Linked DNA regions of Homo sapiens: all the other regions are linked to region 5. Evidence: promoter capture Hi-C in 16 types of primary human blood cells and fetal thymus (Javierre and others, 2016). All regions are on one chromosome and are shown on one strand. The core of a region is centred on a gene start or on the middle of the fragment in contact, and the rest is flanking DNA. Distances in the headings are between cores, read along the strand shown.

Region 1 (2,700 bases), core at 74-2,573, 280 kb before region 5:
TAAGGAACTCATGGATAATATAGAGGTTTTAATTTAATCAATGGGGGAAAGGAAAACTAGAAAAATCCATAGGAAAATTCACTAAAAACATAAAATCCATAATTTGCTATATCCATCCTAACACAATGTTTAAATCTTTTTTCTTTTTAGTAAGTTTTAAAATGCCTAAAAAAAGCTATTTGTGTTACAGGTTAGATATTTAAACTAACCCTTTCATTTCTATTGTGTGACCTACTAAAACTGCAAAACTCAGTGACACATTGAGATGTGTCCAGCATTTATATTATGTATATATATTATGACCAGCATTTATATTATGTGAAGTGACACATAACAGAGCACGAGTTATTTTGAAATAATTTATTGTTAATATGTTGAATGTTAAGGCGCTTGGTATGAAAAAAATAGCCACTGGAAGCATTAAGTATAAAAGAACCATAACTAGCTAATTTTGTATTAGTCTATGGCTGTGTAATAAATTACTGTAAATCATAACAGCTCAAAATAGCAATAAATATGTATTAACTCCCAGTTTCTGCAGGTCAGGAATTTGGGAACAGTTAGCTGAGTGGTTCTGGCTCAGAGTCTCTCATGAGGTTGTAGTCAAGATGCTGTCCAGGACCACAGTCACCTGAAGGGTTGGACGAAGCTTAGGATTGTTCCCAAGAAAGCTCACTCACCTGCTGCTGTTTCCCAGCAGGAGGCTTCAGATCCTCCTCTTCTGGGCTTCCCCATGGGCTGCTTGAGAATCCTCATGATATAGTGACTGGCTCCCCATAAAAGTGAGAGACCCAAGACAGAGCAAGACAGAAGCTGCATTGTCTTTTCACAGTCTAGCTTCAGAAGTCACACATGGTTATTTCCACAATATCCTATAGCTACAAAACTCCATCCTAATCCAAGTAGGAGGGTACTGCAAAAGGGCATGAACATGAGGAGTTCAGGATCACTCAGGGCCATCTTGGAGGCTGGCTACCATGAACCTTAATTGGAATCTAATGCTTAAGTACTACATCAGGAGAGTATCAGTTTTTAAAATTATATTACGTTCAATTCAACAAAAATATTGTTTTGCTCTTTTAATTTTTACCTATATATAAACATAAATCTATATACTTGTATTTATTTATTATTAAATTCACTAAAAACATAAAATCCATAATTTGCTATATCCATTCTAACACGTTTAAATCTTTTTTCTTTTTAGTAAAAGTTTTAATATGCCTAAAAAAAGCTATTTGTGTTACAAGTTAGATATTTAAACTAACCCTTTCATTTCTATTGTGTGACCTACCAAAACTGCAAAACTCAGTGACACATTGATATACAGGGACCAGCATTTATATTATGTAAAGGTAGTATGCTATAGATAGTGTCCTGATAACTTTTTTCCATTGGATAGTATATTAAGTTGATGCAAAAGTAATTACGGTTTTCGTCATTGCTTTTAATAGAAAACAACACAGTTACTTTTGCTCCAACCTAATATTTGTAAGATTTATCCAATTGTGGGTATTGTAGTGTCTTATTAGGTAAGAATGCTATGTAATATTTCATTGTGTGATTACACAACAATTCTTGAATCCACACTCCTGTTGATGTGCATTTGAGTTCTTTCCAGGTTTTTGCTTTTAGGAACAGTGTTGCTGTGACCAGTCTTAAACATGTGCAAGAGCTTCTCATATATTCCTAAGAATAAAACTGCTAACTCACCTGGTATATGAATATCCATCTGTTTTCCAAAGTTACTGCACCTGTTTACCTCCCCACTAAAACTTCAAAAGATTTTCAAGACTTTTAATTTTTATTAATTAAAAACTATAATGACCTTATATTATCCTAAAAAGTAATTAAGAAATATAACCCTGTCCTGGAGAACATAATCTAAACTAAAAGAAAAATTGTATCTAAAACATATAGGCAAACAGACAATTCCAAGATATTACATATGTAAGGATAGTTCCCTATAGGGTGATAGTACATCTCAAACAAGCTTTTCTGGGAAGGAACCCCTAGTGATAGAGAAACATAAAAATGCAGTTTGTCTCACCTTATACCTATTCCCACATCTCCTCACCAAGTCTGAAGATATGGCAAAAACTTCAGAATTCATTTGAAGTTTCATGTTTCATTGTAAATGTTGCTTTTTTATTTTTGCCTGTTACTCCAATATATAACTATTTTGTGTCAATATATTTTATTATGAATCTTTGAGTATAATTGATAACCTAAAAATATGTGGCATGTTTAATCTCATGTTAATCTACTGTTCCTTGGCCAGGCACTGTGGCTCATGCCTATAATCCCAGCACTTTGAGAGGCCAAGGTGGGCAGATCACTTGAGGCCAAGAGTTAGAGACCAGCCTGGCCAACATGGCAAAACCCCATCTCTACTAAGAAGTACAAAAATTAGTTGGGTGTGGTGGCACATGCATGTAGTCCCAGTTACTCAGGAGGCTGAGGCACAACAATCGCTTGAATTCAGTAGGTGGAAGTTGCAGTGAGCTGAGATTGTGCCACTGCACTGCAGCCTGGGCAACAGAGCGAAGCTCTGTCTCAAAAAAAAAAAAAAAATACATCCATTTAAAAAGTACAACTATAAGTGGTGGGAATGTCTTGGATTTTCTTGCATAATCCAATATCCTTTTTTAAAAAAAAAGATTCTAGAGACAGGGTCTCACTTTGTTGCCCAGGCTGGAG
Region 2 (2,700 bases), core at 178-2,677, 300 kb before region 5:
CGTAAAATAGGTGAAGGGTGGAGATCAGAGGAAAGCGTGCCAAACAGGAAGACAAGTTCTCAATCTAGTCTGAAAATTTAACTTGTAGTTTGGCTTTCAGGCTTTAAACTGTCTTCAGCTTGGAGGTGGGGTTTCACCGGGGACCTGCCTCTATCTGCCTAGGCGTTTGACTGTCTTCTGTTGCTGTCACTAGTAGCACAATATAAAGATTTTGTGCTACTGTTTCACAGTGATTTGCAATTAGTGCTTTTTTTTGTCATGTAGTTTTGTTTTTAGTGCATTATTCTTTAGGAGAATTTATCCGTGAAGCTTGGGTATCACAGCTTACTGCTATGTCCTTGATTTATACTTCTCATTGACTGTGAGAAGTGATGGCTAGTTTTCCTGCTGTGAGCAGGTTTGGTGATATACAATACCATTCGCAAGATGTTATATATGTGCATTGTCACATTTCTTTCAAAAATGATATTTCCAATTTTTCCAAACATTCATATCTTCTTTCTGGCCATCATACTGATTTTATTACCAAAATAAAATCTTATCATTAACTCTGAAAACAATTTAAATAACTATAAGCCATAGTTAGGGAATGATTTTTAATAAAACCTAGATACAAACACCATCATTTTCTCCTCTAATAGCAGGTTGTCTTGCCTGACTCTCAAAAATGAGGGAGCTAAATCATACAGATAGGTGACATGTTCATGGCTATAAGGAACACCATAGCATAATATTTGGACAGTAAGACATAATACATATCCTGAAAAAACTTTGATGTGTAGTCAGTGTAACCCTTGTCCCCTGTCCTCCTCCCTAACCTCAGGAAAGATCCACACTTCCACATTTATTCCCTACCCACCTTTGGTTTTGAATCCTCATTTCCACAGATGCAGCATGACATCTGTAACCCCTACAAATCTGCATACCCCTCCAGCCTTCCCAGAACTTCATTCCCTCCATCTTCATTGCCTTAGCTCCTTTTGTCTTTAAGTATTCACTCACTAAGTCAAGAAAATATTGGAGGGGGGGTGGGGCAAAACAACTAGGCTTTAAAGGTGGGGGATTACCCAGATCAACACAAGTCTCCCACTTGAACAACTGCTCTTTGACACCTGTACCCTGAGATGTGACTATGGATTAAAGTCATAGCACCCCTGCCTCCAGGTTGGAAAGTTTTATGGAAAATGAACATATTTTATTAGAAGACAATGAGAACTTCCTGGAGCAGATGAGTAAACACACCCTCATGTTTACCTGATAACTGAAATCAAAGATGAGGTGTAGCCTCTGGTTTGAAATGTTACAAAGTGTAAAATTAAGATAAAGGCAGAAAAATGAAAAGGAAATAGCCAGTTTTGAAGCAGAAGAACTCAGTGGGACAGGGGCCAAATCAGTGAAAGAGGTGCTGCTCAGATACCAGATTTAATGACAACCAAAGTGGCCCAAATATCCAAAAAAAATTGCGCTTCTGAAAACCAGTAGGAGGTTGCAGTGGACTAAAGATGGCCACAAAATTTTTATCGTTTTCCCCGTCAAGAATGGGAGTTTATTTTTCATCATCTTGAATCTGGCCCTGTGACTGCATCACCAAGAAGACACTGCAGAAGTGATGCTCTGCCAGTTCTGGTTCTAGTCTTTTAGAAGACTGTTAGCCTCTACTTCCTCTTTCTTCAAATGAGCTCTCTTGGGACACCCTCTCTCAGAACCAAACCACCATGCATGGGGCATGTGTGGCCTCTTCACTCAGGAGCCCCAGCAGAGCAACCAGCCAGTACTGAGCATCAAGTGCCAGTCATGTGAATGAGCCATCTAGGATGTTCTTTGGTCAAGTCTATACAAAAGAACTTACCAGCTGAGCCCAGCCAACACATAGAATTATGAAATAGTAAAATGATTATTGTTTAAAGTCATGAAATTTTGCAGTTTTTTTAATATAGCAATAGATAACCAAAATCAAGATTAAATAAAATATCAGATGATTAAAATGGAGCATGAAAATGGAGTTAACTTTGTAAGAAGAACCACAACCCCAATGATCATGACTTAGAGGAAAGTTCAGTAAATAAAACAGAAAATATTGAAAAAGGCTGTTTCATTTTAAACCTGTGTCAAGCTCCTAGACCTAAAATGACACTTGAAATTGTCCTCCATTAGAATTCATTGTGCTACAGATTTTCTCTCATTCTGTTACATATATTTATTTAATGAAGTAGAGAAATTCTTCTCTCATAAGCTAATGCTGCAAGGTGTTTTTATATGTATTATATGTATATGTACATACATATATTTTTTATATTAACATAACAGTTTATAATAAATGTTTAAGTGTTTTATAATAATATTTATACATTTATCACCATATATACACACACACAAATATATGTATACACACACATATACATACATATAAATGTCTGGGGATAGAAAGTGAGACCCTCAGAATCTTGGATGTAGCCTGACTGCTCTGCACCCAACTGGGGAGGAGTGAGGGGAGAAGAAAGTAGAGTTCCAGCCAGAAAGGTGACAGAAGACTGCCCAAAGCTTCATGTAACCAATCCCTCAAGCCTGCGGAAAAGTTACTAAATGTTTGGTGCCAGTGCCTTCCTGCAGAGTCAGTGATGCTTATGCTTGGTACTGAATCAGAGACAGCACCTTCAACCATAGTCACACGTCTGCAAAAGACAGAAAAATCCAGTCTGA
Region 3 (2,700 bases), core at 1-2,500, 320 kb before region 5:
TTTCTTTTTCTTCCCTTATTGCAATGACCGAATAGTGAGAGTGGTGACAGTGGGTATCCTCATCTCATTCCCATATAAGGAAAGTGTTAAGTATTTCGCCACTAAATATGTTAACTGTAGATTTTCTAAGATGAGCAACTAATGGGCAGAGAGGCGGGTGCAATTGTTACTATCCCAGTTAAGGCTCCCACAAGAAAGAGGGGAGGGGAAAAAAGCAAAGAATGAAAATTCCCCCAACACGTAAAATTTCCCAACTCAGCCTCTTCCACGGTTTGTCTACACCACTTTCTAAATGCTTACATCTCAGATACCCCTAAAATCCCACAATCAGGGGCTGAAGATGAGGACAGAGTTGTTATCAGGGAGCACAAGTAAGGACATAAAGACTTCTCCAGAAACTGCCAAACAGCAGCTAGCGCTGCTCTAGGGATACCTATGGGTGGACAGCACAAAAGATTAATAGCACTTTATAACTTGAGGACTCCACTGTCAGTTAAGCATGTCACTTTACATCTCTGTGACTTTTTTCAACTTTTAGAATAGACAAATAATGAGAGACTTAATTATAACTATAGCATAGAATGTAAATATTATTAACCTTGACAAAATAAAGCAGGCTGGGAGACAGAATCAGGAAGAATGGGAATGGTATTTCCATACAACTTACAATGTGCAGAGTCAAAAGGCACTGCCTCAGATTAATGAGACAAGAAAAAGAAATAGAAAAAAAGTGTTTAGAGCTGGAGTTGCAGAGGTGATCAACAGTAGAAGTGGAATAATAAGATTACAAATACATGTGGGGGGATAGTAGAGTAAACGAAATCATCACCCACAGTAATACCAAGTCAACAGATAATATCTTAGGTTGATAAATAAACTGAGGTGTAAACATTTTAGACAGAGGTATCCACCAAAAAAATTAAATAGCAGAAACCAGTAAACATTGCACATAACTCTGAAGCAGAATTAGGGGGTGAGGTGCAGCAGATAAGGTTGTTCTCTGTACTTAAAAAAACAAACAAACAAAAACCAACAAGTATTACTTTGACTAAAAACACAAACTTAAAATGTTTAAATAGATAGTAAACAAAAGTAGCAAAATTTAGTTAAATGTAAATGGTTGATCACTTGGTTGCAAGTATTAATATAACTTTTTAGGAGAGTCTTCAAATAGAAAAGGCATTTGATAGAGAATATTCTGAACTAAAAAGATTTTAACAAAACTAAGAGAAGGAAAGAAAAAAATACAGAAAGACATCTTGTTTGGGTACGATGTTACACATACTATTTAATACTGGTGAATATTAATTTAAATCAGTTAAAATTTTAAGGGTATCCTCCAGAAAAATGAGCTGTTGAACTGCCAAATCACTAGAGCACTGGTTCTCTGCCTTACAGAATCTGATGAAATCTATTGAACTTCCACCAGAAAACCACGCACATAATAAAATTTTGCATTTGCCTTTAATGGAACTGATGAATAATGGATCCTCTCTTAAAATTTATTGACCCTCCTTATACCCCTCGATCTATAATTCTTTGCTCTCCTGTACTGAATTTCCAAAAGGAACCATTTATACTCACACTGTCTCTTCCCTCTCTTCCCAATTTCATTTGAGGCCACTCAAACAAGCCTTTTCCCCTCCACTCCGTGGAAACCATTTAGTGAAGCTCAACAGCTTCCACATCACCAAATGGCAAATGTTCAGTCTTCTTACACAGCATCTCAGCAATAGTTAACAAGTTGATCATTCCTTTCCTGAAACCTTGTCTTCACTTGGCTTCCAGGATACCACAATCCTCTGGTTTCTTCTTTGCACACACTCCCTAGGTGAACACATCTGGACCCACAATGGAGACACGATCACTTCACTGACTTGCTGAACACTCTCATATTCGTATTTGGTCCAATCTTGACTTCTCTCTTGAATTTCATACTCATATAGCCAACTGCATACTCAAATTACTACCTGTATGTCTAATAGGCATCACCAATTCAGTATGTCCAGAAATCTTGGTTGCCACCCTCATCACCATCACCATGCCTTGTTAGGATATATAATTAAAATATTAGCATGGTAAGATCTAGGTAATTTTTGTTTCTGCATTCAAATTCTTAACCATAAATACATACTACTTTATAATCAGAAAAATGTTGGAATAAATAACTATAAACAAACAAAAAATGTGCCTTGGTTAAAAAGATAGTTCACAATTATTTTGATTGTCGTGAAATCTCCCAAAGATTGCCAATTACATTTTCCCCCTTTAGAGTAGATATTTCCTACAGTCATCAGCAGATAATTGGTTTGTCACTACATGATAAGTTGATGGGCTCTAAAACTTAGCAGATTCTTCACAATAAATTACTAAAGAATAAATTAAATTTTATAGAAATCTAAAATAAAAAGAAGACTTGGTGTTTAAAAAAAATGAGAGAACCCTGCTATAGGAAAATGAGGAGGAAAGACCCATCAAGTCAAGTCTAGCCATGTGAACAAGGGCAAATGTGCATGTGTGAAACTGAATAGATAGCCTAAGTAGGTAGCTCCCACCCTATCTGTCTCACGAAGCCCTCTGAAAAATATGAAGTGTTAAACACACAGAATTATTAGGGACAACAGGAAATCAAGTTTTAGGTTATTTTAAGGCTACCAGCAGCTGTGGATAATCAGATTAACGCTCTACTGATATCATCAA
Region 4 (2,700 bases), core at 191-2,690, 340 kb before region 5:
AAAATACAAAAAATAAATTAAAAAAAAAATTAGCCAGGCGCAGTGGCAGGCGCCTGTAGTCCCAGCTACTCCGGAGGCTGAGGCAGGAGAATGGCATGAACCCAGCAGGCAGAGCTTGCAGTGAGCCGAGATCGCACCACTGCACTCCAGCCTGGGCGACAAAGCAAGACTCCATCTCAAAAAAGAAAAAGAAAAGATTCAAAAGCAAGCATTGTTCTCACTTAGGATCCCATTAGATATTAATATTTTCAATTCATATCACCATATCTATCAGAATTTTTTTCCTTAGATGAAAGATCCTGGTTGGTCTGGTTTTGGTATCAACCAAAACAAGTTATTCAGGTCCACAGTTCATTTAAATGAACACCTGGAATATTAACTTCTATAGACACAAAACAGAGAACCTAAAGTGCTTTATAATTTCTTGAATCTATTCACAACCACTAATGATTAGGTAGACAGTAAAGTCATTCTTAATTTGAAAACCTTCTTTTTAAAAAGCACTTACATATCACAGCATATCATGGTAAAAATGATAAAATGGTAATTGATACATATTAAAATAAGTAATTGAGCATTATATCTGACCTAGAAATTTAAAAACTATTTCCTTGACAAAAAAGAAAGTGGTGGAATTTAAATAGTAACAAGAAACTTTTACACTTACCAGCTTCTCAATTTCTGATTCAAGATTCTGTATACAGTCAAGTTTTCTCTTGCGACAGCGCTGTGCAGCAATTCTGTTTTTACTTCTTCTTCGAATATCATGGATACAATCCAGCTGTTCTGGAGTAAGCTTGTGCATTTTCAACAAGGACTGAAAATCATTTCGAGACAGTGAAATTATCCGTTGTGCATTGAATGGCAGTTTTACCTAGAATATGAAATAAATATTACTAATTATTGCTGTATTTTATAATTATAGTCAAACCTAGGAAGATGAAGGTATACATCTAAGTTTTTCAGAGAACTTATTTTACATTAAAGAAAACATAGGCCTCTATCCCAATTTCTATACAATCTCAAAAGGATATCTGCACTGATCTACACATATTTTTTTGGAGACAGGGTCTCTGTCATGCAGGAGTACGGTGGCACAATCATGGCTTACTGCAGCCTCAACCTCCTAGGCTCAAGCGATCCTCTCACCTCAGCTTCCTAAGTAGCTGGGACTACTGGCACATGCCACCATGCCTGGCTAATTTTTGTATTTTTTGTAGAGATGGGGTTTTACCATGTTGCCCAAGCTGATCTCAAACTCCTGGGCTCAGGCAATCTACCCACCTCAGCCTCCCAAGGTGTTGGGATTACAGGCATGAGCCACTGTGCCCAGTCTGTACTCCCCGCCATATTCGTTACCGCATTATTCACAATAGCCATGATATGGAAACAACCTAAATGTCCATGGATGGATGAACGGATAAAGAAAACGTGGTGTATATACACAAAGGAATACCATTCAGCCTGATAAAAAGAAGGAAATCCTGCCATTTGCCTACAATATGGAGAACTTGGGAGGCATCATGCTAAGTGAAATAAGCCAGACACAGAGGAGAGTAAATCCAACATGATTTCACTTATACGAAGTAGACAGAACAGTCAAACTCACAGAAACAGAGAGTAGAATGGTGGTTGCCAGGGGCTAGGGAGAGGGAAAAAATGGGGAATTGCAATTGGATGGGTTAAGTTTCAGTCATAAAAGAATAAGTTATAGAGATCTGCTGTACAATATTGTGCTTATACTTAACAATACTGTATCGTACACTTAAAATTTTGTTATAAGGGTAGATCCCATGTTAAGTATTCTTACAAAAAACAAATAAAGCCCAAGAAAGGGGAAAAAATGCAATGGATAAAATAGAAAAATAATTTTTAAAAAGAATGTAAATTGTGATTATAAAGAGAAAAGCCAACTATTGAAAGGCAAAAAAAATCATAAAATATAAAAACAAAAAAAAGAAAAAATATTTTAATTAATATATTTTTGGAAGGAACTAACAGGCCCTTGTCATTATTGGACTTATAAGTAATATTTTACAGAAAGGATCTATCAAATACAAACAGAATATACAAATCAAGCTTGCTTTGATTAATATCATACCAGCTACATGTAACTCATGCTAAATTAAGACATTCATCAATAGTTGAAATGGCCAAAGGAAAATTTAAAAATCAATGGCCATGAAAAACTAGATCCAATAAACTTTACTCCACTAGAAGTCACATTCCTACAACTAATCACTGTTAAACCACTGCTCAGGGACATGTCCCAGGTCTAGAGGTTCTTGTTGGCAATGAGCAAGACTGAATATATGCTGCATTTTTCCAGGAGTTATCAAATAATGAGCATAGAATCATTATTCTTTTTTGTCTTGCAGCATGGCATTTGATTTAAACAATTAAATGGCCGATGTGTGAACACAGCCAATGTGTGAACCTACTTTATGGTTAATATATCTACTGGAAACGAATGAACAGAAGTCCTTCAAACTTCATCTCTCTCTTTTGGTATTTATCACACAGTGTTTTTAAAAAATTTTTTGAGACAGTCTTGCTCTGTCTCCTAGGCTGGAGTGCAGTGGTGCAAACCTGGCTCACTGCAACCTCCGCCTCCCACATTCAAGCGCTTCTCCTGCCTCAGCCTCTCGAGTAGCTGGGATTACAGGCACCCACCACCACACCCAGCTAATTTTTGTAGAG
Region 5 (2,747 bases), core at 7-2,506:
TAAAAGGTAACAGGTAATCACTGCAGGTAGCAGCTACCATTCCTAGAGCTAGGAAAGGATGGAACAAAAGAAGTGGTTGGAGTCATCAGAACCTAAAAGCTTGAAGGAGGGCCCTGAACACCTTAGTTCAGGCCTATGAAGAATGAAGAGAGGGTGATGGCTGGCTGTTACTGGATCTCTGGAGCACAAAGAAGGGATCCCACGGTGTTGAGGCTCAAACTTCTGAGGAGGTGGCTCAAACATTGGCTATCTCAGGAGCTCAGGGGAGGGGCCGCATGAAAGTAGAATTCAGATCTCTGAGGAGAGCACTGACTGCTGCTGTGATCTCTGAGGGGTGCAATAAGGCTGATTCTGTGATTGTTGGAAAAAGGATAGAGATTAAAACCACCTTTTGGCTAAAGCAATTGCTCCTGCCACGGTAAAATGCAGCTGCTGCTGGCATGATGCTTACAGAATGGAGCAAGTCCCTTCTTCCTCTTGCCTTTGTTTCCCTCTTGTTCGTCCTGTTGGTGGAATCTAGCAGAAGCCCCCCCAGTAACATGGAGTTGAGTATAAAAGGGTGACTGCGTGGACAAGAAACAATAACCAGCACACATTTACTTGTTTCTCTGGTGTGATTCTGAGTCGCACAATCAATGGGTTACAGGATTTGTACATTTCAAATTTTAATAGGGACTCCCACATTATCCTCTTTCCTAAACTGCACGTTAACAGTTTCAATATGAATAAAAGGGGACGGGGAGGGGAGATTTAGAGAGAATAGTGCCTACAGCAGTAATCAAATTTTAACAAGACTTGGGAATACTGTCAAAATGCAGGATCTGATTCAGGAGTTCTGAGGGGCCCGAGTTGGCCTTTTCTAAAAAACGCCCAGGTGATACTGATGATTGCATCATGTTGGAAGTCTAAAACACTCCCATCTTCCCACAGCCTCTACCATAACATTCTAATGCTACCCTTATGTGAAACTGCCCCTCTGATGATTCACGCCAGTTTCCTACCCTCTAAGCAAGGAACAAACCTAGCTTCTGAAAGCGGGGAGGACAGGATTTGGCGCCACGGGTCCAATGCTTGGCTTCCTATTGGCCAGGAATGACATCACTCAGACAGGCGTGGCTTTAGCTGTGACGTCTCCGGTGGCGGATGGTCAGGGACACAGCGGGAGGCGGGAGCGGAAGTGGGGCAGCAAATGGACAGGGTGGGTGGCGGAAAAGGGCCCGGGGGAAGTTATTACAGGGTGTCCTCTTCCGCCGCCAGAAGCCGGAAGTTGTGTCCCGGACGTGTCAACCGGGGTCTGAGTGCTCAGAGTACAGCTGCAACCGCGACCATGGGCGGGAAGAACAAGCAGCGAACTAAAGGGAACCTGAGGGTGAGCGGGGGCTGGCTCGGCCGACCCGGGAGCCTCGCTTCGAGGCGGCTGGCTCCGCCCAGCGCGTTGCTGGAGGGTGTGTGGAGCGCGGCTGTAGGGAGGCGTGTGTTTCCCTGTCGAGTGTGACCTCTCTGTTGTGTGTGCGTCCCTGAGAGCGGTTTGTGTTATCTCTGAGCAGATTGGGGAATCGTGAGAGAAAAGATGTACCATGCCAGAGCTGTCCTCATCCGAGCACACACCCATAATATTCATGAAGAAATGATAATGTGTCAGGTTCACTGGAAGGTGATCTGGCCGAGGTAGCGGGTTGGTTGGGGGAGGGCGGCGCTGGGAAGAAGGAGAGTTGGGAGAATGTTAAAGTGAATCCACTGTGGAGGTTACCGCAGATTGTGCCTCTCCTTTGCTACCTACAGTGGCTTCTCCTAAGCTAAAGCTCTTAGGATGGTATATTTGGTTTCTGGACTGCCTGTTACCCCTTTCCATCTGCAGTCCCATCTTCAGCTCCCTCCTCTTGGCTTACTTCATCCAGCCACACTGATCTCTTCACTGTGCCTTGACTACCTGGCCGGCTCCCAACGCTCTTCAGTTAGGTGGCTCCAAACTTTGCTCTCGACACCTCAGTGAGGTCTCCCATGATCACCCTCTTGGTAGCCCTTCCCCACTCCCATGTTCTTCCTACTTTATTTTACTCCATTGTATTTATGACATTTATTGTCTTGGTTCACTAGGACGTAAGTATTTTGAAAGCAAATGTTTTTATCCTCGGAACCTAGAACAGACTGGCACCTAATAGACGCTCACTAAGTACTTGCTTAAGGACGACCTTAAAGTGGATTCGTGTAAAACTACACGATGAGGGGTTTTGTAATGGTATTTTTTTATGGTGTTAGATTTATTATAGCACAGTCCAATTTTATGAGAATGCTTTTTTTTCCTGTTTCTGATGTAGTTAATTCTAGTGATTTCAATGTCACATTTTCTTAGATCTGTCACTTAATCTGTTTTGGAAGATAATAACAGTATTAACAATTATAGCAACCTGTTGTGTTACTGTGCTAAGCACTTTACTTGCATCTTTTAATGTTTTTTATTTAACAGATTTTCTCAAATGTTTTATATTTGAAAAGTTCTTATGAGGAAAAGTTGCAAGAATATTAGAACGACATCCCATATACTCTTTACCTACATTTACCAATTGCTAATACTTGGTTGCATTTGCTTTCTCTCTCTTAATTTATGTATTTTTCTGAACTTATAAGAGTTAGTTGCAGAAGTCGGGACTCTTAACTCCTAAATACATCAGCATGTATCTTCTAAAAACAATGCCATTTTCTAGCCTGCAGCAATTATAATAATGGTTATAGTATGCAGAAACTTT

Evidence for each region. The method cuts DNA at HindIII sites, captures the fragments that hold promoters and counts their contacts. A CHiCAGO score of 5 or more calls a contact.
Region 1: a contact is called between a fragment that was not itself captured here and the fragment with the promoter of LTN1 in region 5, in 1 of 17 cell types (neutrophils). The highest score is 5.0, in neutrophils.
Region 2: a contact is called between a fragment that was not itself captured here and the fragment with the promoter of LTN1 in region 5, in 8 of 17 cell types (naive CD4 T cells, naive CD8 T cells, neutrophils and 5 more). The highest score is 8.0, in naive CD4 T cells.
Region 3: a contact is called between a fragment that was not itself captured here and the fragment with the promoter of LTN1 in region 5, in 6 of 17 cell types (neutrophils, naive B cells, activated CD4 T cells and 3 more). The highest score is 10.3, in neutrophils.
Region 4: a contact is called between a fragment that was not itself captured here and the fragment with the promoter of LTN1 in region 5, in 5 of 17 cell types (neutrophils, naive CD4 T cells, total CD8 T cells and 2 more). The highest score is 8.0, in neutrophils.

What each region holds. Positions count from the first base shown.
Region 1 is chr21:29,272,816-29,275,515 of GRCh38, reverse strand. All of the region lies in intron 1 of LINC00189 (long intergenic non-protein coding RNA 189), which reads right to left. Among named protein-coding and RNA genes, the nearest start is that of BACH1, 25 kb to the left of the region's middle. The HindIII fragment of the contact is 1,344 bases long and covers 652-1,995 here.
Region 2 is chr21:29,292,683-29,295,382 of GRCh38, reverse strand. No RefSeq gene overlaps it. Among named protein-coding and RNA genes, the nearest start is that of BACH1, 4.9 kb to the left of the region's middle. The HindIII fragment of the contact is 2,232 bases long and covers 312-2,543 here.
Region 3 is chr21:29,309,748-29,312,447 of GRCh38, reverse strand. All of the region lies in intron 1 of BACH1 (BTB domain and CNC homolog 1), which reads right to left. Among named protein-coding and RNA genes, the nearest start is that of BACH1, 12 kb to the right of the region's middle. The HindIII fragment of the contact is 3,024 bases long and covers 1-2,700 here.
Region 4 is chr21:29,327,661-29,330,360 of GRCh38, reverse strand. BACH1 (BTB domain and CNC homolog 1) reads right to left here. Exons shown (of 5, transcript NM_001186.4): 4 at 668-874. Among named protein-coding and RNA genes, the nearest start is that of BACH1, 30 kb to the right of the region's middle. The HindIII fragment of the contact is 1,283 bases long and covers 799-2,081 here.
Region 5 is chr21:28,991,386-28,994,132 of GRCh38, reverse strand. LTN1 (listerin E3 ubiquitin protein ligase 1) reads left to right here and starts at 1,256. Exons shown (of 30, transcript NM_015565.3): 1 at 1,256-1,369. The coding sequence starts at 1,328. LOC105372766 (a long non-coding RNA gene) reads right to left here and starts at 1,030. Exons shown (of 3, transcript XR_007067835.1): 1 at 1,002-1,030; 2 at 452-563; 3 at 1-351. RefSeq lists enhancers at 972-1,031, 1,342-1,451. The HindIII fragment of the contact is 7,723 bases long and covers 102-2,747 here.